Linked DNA regions of Homo sapiens: region 2 is linked to region 1. Evidence: promoter capture Hi-C in human tissues and cell types (Jung and others, 2019). All regions are on one chromosome and are shown on one strand. Each heading gives the region's core, a stretch centred on a gene start or on the middle of the fragment in contact. The rest is flanking DNA. Distances are from core to core; before and after follow the strand shown.

The links. The method cuts DNA at HindIII sites, captures the fragments that hold promoters and counts their contacts. A contact is called where the count stands out against the background at its distance.
Region 2: a fragment that was not itself captured here is called in contact with the fragment with the promoter of GRID2 in region 1 in 2 of the 25 tissues and cell types used here (H1 embryonic stem cells and adrenal gland).

What each region holds. Positions count from the first base shown.
Region 1 is chr4:92,302,268-92,305,436 of GRCh38, forward strand. GRID2 (glutamate ionotropic receptor delta type subunit 2) reads left to right here and starts at 1,699. Exons shown (of 16, transcript NM_001510.4): 1 at 1,699-2,477. The coding sequence starts at 2,390. The HindIII fragment of the contact is 11,112 bases long and covers 948-3,169 here.
Region 2 is chr4:92,419,785-92,422,953 of GRCh38, forward strand. The region is part of intron 1 of GRID2 (glutamate ionotropic receptor delta type subunit 2); the gene reads left to right. Among named protein-coding and RNA genes, the nearest start is that of GRID2, 120 kb to the left of the region's middle. The HindIII fragment of the contact is 4,438 bases long and covers 1-3,169 here.

The DNA of each region.
Region 1 (3,169 bases), core at 449-2,948:
AATTAATCAGTGAATGCTTCTTGGAAGCACTGGTTTGTTCCAGATTCAGAAGGAAGTGATGAAATTCAAGTCAACAAAGGGGTTCTCTGTAAAATGCTGTGTTGAATAAAATGTGAATGAGCTTTGGTTTTCACTCTCAAGGCATTTATGATCTAACTTAGTAGTAGTTCTGTCTAACTCTAATACAAAATAGGGTGTGTTACGACAGCATAGAAGATAGATGGATTTATTCCACATTAAAGGACTGGACACTACTTCATGGGCAAAAGGAATTTGAACTAGCCCTTGAGATGGTGAAGGAGAGTGGTTGGGAGGACAAATACGTGCTTTCCAAGCAGAAATATTAACATAAGTAAAAATATGGCAGCAAAACATTTTCTGGAATGTTCAGGAAAAAGTGTACAAGATGAATGAAAACAGCCAGAAGTGAGAATGTACAACTGTGTCTGGAAAAATAGTAACCCAATTCAGAAGGCTAGAGAGAAGGGCTCAAGTGAGGGAACGGGAGGAAAAGAGGTTTGCCAAACTTGGAGGTAAGGCTTTGAAAGGTTGTGTAATGAGCTTGACATCCACACATCCAACATTCCTAAAGAATTCCAATTATAACTGAGACAATATTATGACATTAATACCTGACCTCGACTAGTCACTCGATTGTGTTAACAAATCTTCAGTTTGCAATGAGGCCAGATTGACATAAGTCAATCATTATAAGAAAAGAAGTCACAATGATCAGGATTTTATCTTAAGGAATAAGCTTGCAGAAAATCCTTTCACTGGAGACTGAGAGGCTGTCATTCAGGACTTCCTCAGCTTTTTCCATGGAAGAGAGTACCCAACTTCCTCATTCGGAATTTATCTACATAGGTTATTAAGCTACTCAATGAAATATTTTGACCAAATGTTTATGAAAAATTTTTCTGTTTTATTTAATTATTCTGCTTTTTTATTTTAATTTCAAGATCTTTTCTATCCTGATAGAGAAGAATTTCTATCAATAGAAAGGATTTCAGGAACCTTTCTCTATCCTGATTGCCTAAAAAATACACTGGAGACAGAAAAAAAAAATCATTGTATAAAAGGTAATTAGCACGTTCTCTCCTTTTTATAACTTTATAATTGAAATCTCATTAAAAGCTTTCTAGGTCTGTATTTCCCTAAGTGACCAGGTGTCCCTAATTTGTTTTCAACCAATGTGACTAATTCCAGGCAAAGACTAGAAAAAGTCTGATACCTGTTAGAGAATAGCAAGGTTAAATAAGTGGGGTGGCTTTTTTAGGTTGCATTTAACCTCGTAAAATAAAGAAAGGAAAAAAAAAGCTTCAATGTCTTTTTACAGTCCTGCCTTTTTCTCAGTCCCGGTTGAAGATTCCATGGGAAATGAGAGCACTATTTTGTTTCTCCCTTGTATTGCAGATAGGGGGAGGAGGTGGTTATTAGAGAGAAGCTCTTCCTCTCTTGGTTTCCCCCTCTCTCCGCCTGACAGCACCGCTCTCTCGCAGGCTCGCTCCTTCTCCTAGGTGATCCATTTCTAGGCAACGTGGGGCTGGTGCTGAAGCTGCCAGGCTCGCTCCTTGCTTCCTGCATCCCGCCAGGCGAAACGCTCCAAAAGCATCCTGCAGCCTGCGGCGGCTTCCCTCCTCTGGCCCGGCCCCGCTGCTCGCGCCCGGCGCAACCCCCCCGCCACCGCGCCCCAGCAAACCGGCTCCCCGGGCCCGCCTCGCCAAGCTGCGTTCCGCGCCTCACGCAGAAAGGGAATTTTCTCTGCATTACTATCTGCATTACCTTGAAGTTCACTTTTTCTACCCCTCTTGGAGAGGGCTTTTTTCCCCCCTCCCTGGTGGAATCTGGCTGCTCCGTTTGGAATCTCCTAATCTTTCCTTTCCACTTAGATTCTGGCAGCGAAGACCAGTGATTCTCTGCGGGCTGTAGGGGCGGGGGCGGGGGTCTTTTTTGGTCCGAGAGGGTGCGGGGAAGGGGGCACATCCGGCGTGAGGGGGGTGTTGGAAGTTGCAGCGGAGCTGGGACCGGAGACCCGCGGCCCCCGCGCAGCGATGGGTCTGATCTGAGCCCCAGCCTCTCCCCCTGCCCAAGAGCAGTAGAGGCTGGATATATTTTTCAAAAGCCAAACTGCAAACAACTCTGGCGATGCCAAAATTCCCCTCCAAGTGACACGGCTTTGCGAAGGAGGTTTCCTCAGGCTGGGCTCTTTCTGTCATTCCCTTCTGCCTTTCTCGGCGACGATAAAAGGCTTTGCTCTGGCAATAGGAATTTAGAAAAAAAGAAAAAGCTGCGCTAAACTCCACCGTGACCTCAAACTCTTTGGACTGTTTGAAAAAAAAAAAATTGGAAGAAAATCCATCCTCCAAGAGAATCGGCATAGGAGGAGATGGAAGTTTTCCCCTTTCTCTTGGTTTTGTCCGTCTGGTGGTCTCGAACCTGGGACTCGGCGAATGCGGATTCGATCATTCACATCGGTAAGAAAGTGTTGGTGCAGCTCGTGGTTACTTTTACCGTTTCAGTTCTCAAATGTTTCCCCTTCGCTTTCCCCCTCTCCGGTCTCTGTGTGTCTTGTTGGAGGTGGCTTCAGTTCATTGCCCCTTCCCGCTACCCTTCCCTCACACTTGCTCAGTTTTCTGAAAGGATGTGGATGCTCGAACCTCGACTGACTTGTGCTGTTGTTTTGCAGTGATTCGTGGAATGTGGCTGGATGCGTGGGGGTCTCGAGTTGACCTGAGTGTGAGTGTGTGCTGGGAACTGCAGGGGGATTCTAAGTGTGTGGGGAAAGGGAGTTTAATTGACTCTTATCTTCCATATTTTTTTTCCCGGATGTACATTTGCTCCATTTAAAAATTTATCTTTGGGGGAGCAGAGAAGCTGTCACCTGTGAGATGAAAAGAACTGGGCTGGGGGGTAGGGGGAGCTCCCTTCGGATCGAACAGGTGGTTTTGCAACGTGAGCCGGCTGAGTTCGCCGCAGCTTAGTGCGATGGTGACGGGGGTGCCGGATGCGCCCCCAGCCACCCTCTCTTCTCACATCTTCTTGGCTTTATGATCCTTGCGTGTAGTCTTTGAGACGGTGGCAGGAGGGGCTGGCGGCAGTGTCGCCAAGGACTGATTGTCGCGTGCCTCGCCTCCTCGGACACGCTCCCGGGGCCTGGCGCGGCGGC
Region 2 (3,169 bases), core at 230-2,729, 120 kb after region 1:
GAAAAAATGATTCACTAGAAAAATTCTAGGACATTTATTTCAGTGGTTATTTATATAGTCAATAGTAATCATCAGAAAATATACTCTGAAAATTGGAAAATATACCTATTTTATTTACTTAAATATTTCAAATTTTACGCTGTTGTTCTCTGAAAATATAAAAATGAAATTTCATCAAAGTTTCTTAGTCATTATTATAAAGTATGATATTTTCAGCATGAATTAGAACAAATATATAGTCTTGACATATAGCTTATTATTGGGGATTATAGAGTTGTTTGCAGTGAAGGGATTTTAGCACTTCTTTTAAAAAATTGGTTTCACAAAATGTATCACTGGAAAATTTATTTCCCTTTGGAGAATTCTGCTGTGACTACAAATTCACTCTTGTCAATTCTTTGCTATAGCTTTGCTAGAGAGCATGTATAATACTAAACTATAATATAAACTTAATTGGATTGATCCATTTATGTATTTATTGCATTTGTCTGGAAATTATTACCATAAACTTTTAAATAGTAAGTTTTAACACCTAATATGGTGTTATGATGCACATAGAAACTATTTTTAAATTTATAGAATCAAATAACTTGATTACAATTTTATGATTATCCTATCTAAGCTCCAGCCTAGTACAGGAGTCTGTTTATCACTGAAGACCATTTATTAGCATATTTTAAATATAATAAAAGGGAGAGCACATGCTTGTGTTATAAGACAAATCATATTTTTGTTGTTTACAAGGTTTGTTTTCATATTTGATTTGTCTTCTCCTAATTTCAATCCCTAGTCTGTCCTTCACATAATACATCAATACAAAAATCAATTACCAATTTCAAATGATAACTTTTCAAATAGATGAAGCAGACATGGACATCACCCACACTGAAATGTTTTTTGTTTTGTTTTGTTTTGTTTGAGACAGAGTGTCTCTCTGTAGCCCAGGCTGGAGTGTAGTGGTGTGATCTCAGCTCACTGCAACATCCACCTTCTGGGTTCAAGTGATTCTTATGCCTCAGCATCCTGAGTAGCTGGGATTACAGGCACGTGCCATCATGCCCAGCTAATTTTTGTATTTTCAGAAGAGATAGTGTTTTCACGTGTTGTCCAGGCTGATCTCAAACTCCTAGCCTCAAGTGATCTGCCTGCCTCAGCTTCCAAAAGTTCTGGGATTATAGGCATGAGCCAAGCTGCCTGGCCCTCACACTGAAGTTTTTTTTAATGTAAATTCTCTGTCAGTTACTACACAACTTAAAAGGTAAATGAGAACAGTTCTTTTTGTTTTTTTCAGTTCCATCATTTACTTTTTCATATGGCTAGTTTCCAAATGCTGCACCTTTTACATGATCAGCTCTGAGAGCTTTATCTTTTATTAATTTTATTTATATTTATTAATCATGGTTATTTAAATTATTTGTTTGTTGAGTGCTCTGTATGTGTTAAGATCTGTACGGACTGTTTTATATTTATTAATTTAGTAAATACCTGCTGAGTTCATTCTATATATCTGGTACTTGAATTCAGTACAGTGGAACAATGGATGTGTTATAGGAATTAGACCTTATACAATTGTGGGAGGAGCTGAGGAAATACAGATGGAAAAAGGAGAAAGTTTGAGAAAAGATCACCAGTCAGTCTTCCCAAAGCACTGTCACCTTTGGCATGAGAATGCTGAGAACCCAAGCACATTTGGTTGCTGAAGTGGGACTGCAAATGAAAGTTTGTAGAAAAGTCAGTTAGAAGCTTTTGACCCTGTAAGATCTATCTGCTGTAGGCCCACTGCTAAGAGTCTGGTAGTGGGTCCAAGGCTGCTGTTATTCAAACAGGACTAATAGATGAGAATAAGAATTAGACACAAAGCAGAAGAGAGTAAAAACAAGCTAGAGTTTGCTGGGCGCTCTGTTTCAGTCACTCTCTGTGTCTGATGTAGGTTTAGAGAGTAATGCCCACTGCTTCACTTTCCTATCCCAAATCTTGCACAAGTTCCTTTTCTGTTCAACTCTAATCCAGAACTATACAAAGAAAAGAACACTGGGTAGTATAGTTAATAGCTTAACTATTAGAGAGCCAATAGTTCAAATCTGCAAGGGATGCTTGGGATTCAGTGGTGAAAAGACAGAAAAAGTTCCTCGCTTCTTGCAGTTACATTCTAGTGGTAGAGTCAGAAAATAATAAATATTTTATTTAATGTCAAGCAGTGGAAGTTCAGGAAAAATAATTAAGCAGAGAAAGGAATGGAGAATGATGCCTTGGAGCAGCATGAGTGGAGGATGAGATGAGGCTTCCCTTTTTGAGTAAGGTGGATGAGGAAGACTCATCTAAGGAAATGCAAATGAGCCTTAGAGACCTCAGTGATGTAATGTGAATCTTTCAGCTACCTAAAACAGATCAGTACTGGCAGAGGGTAGGCAGCAGGTGGGAAAAAGCTTGGTGATTTTTGGAAGAGCCGGGTAGTGTGTCTAAAGTTGAATGAGTGAAATGGAGAGTTCTAGGAGCAGATTTAGAGACCTTTCCAGGGATTCGTTCAAAGAGAACATTATAGGCATGAAATGAGTTTGGACAGTGTATGATAGGAGTCCACTGGAGAGTTTTAAGCAGAGATGAGACAAGTTTGAATTTACATTTTATTTTATTTTATTTTTGTGGGAGACCAGAGTTTTATTATTACTCAAATCAGTCTCCCCAAGCATTCAGGAATCAGAGATTTTAAGGACAACTTGGTGGGGAAGGGGAAGCCAGTGAGCCAGCGGTGTTAATTAGTTAGGTAGGAGATGAAATCACAGGGAATTGAAGCTGTCCTCTTGTGTTGAGTCTGTTCCTGGGTGGGGGCCACAAGATCAGAGGAGCCAGTTAACCCATCTGGGTGGTGCCAGCTAATCCATCAAGTGCAAGGTCTGCAAAATATCTCAAGCACTGATCTAGCAAGCAGTTCAGGGAGGGTCAGAATCTTGTAGCCTCCAGCTGCATTACTCCTAAACCATAATTTCTAATCTTGTGGCTAATTTGTTAGTCCCGCAAAAGCAGTCTAGTCCCCAGGCAAGAAAGAGATTTGTTTTGGGAAAGAACTGTTACCATCTTTGTTTTAAACTATAAACTAAGTTCCCCCCAAAGTTAGTTCAGCATACGCCCAGGAATGAACAAGGACAGCTTGGAGAACAAGATAGAGCCT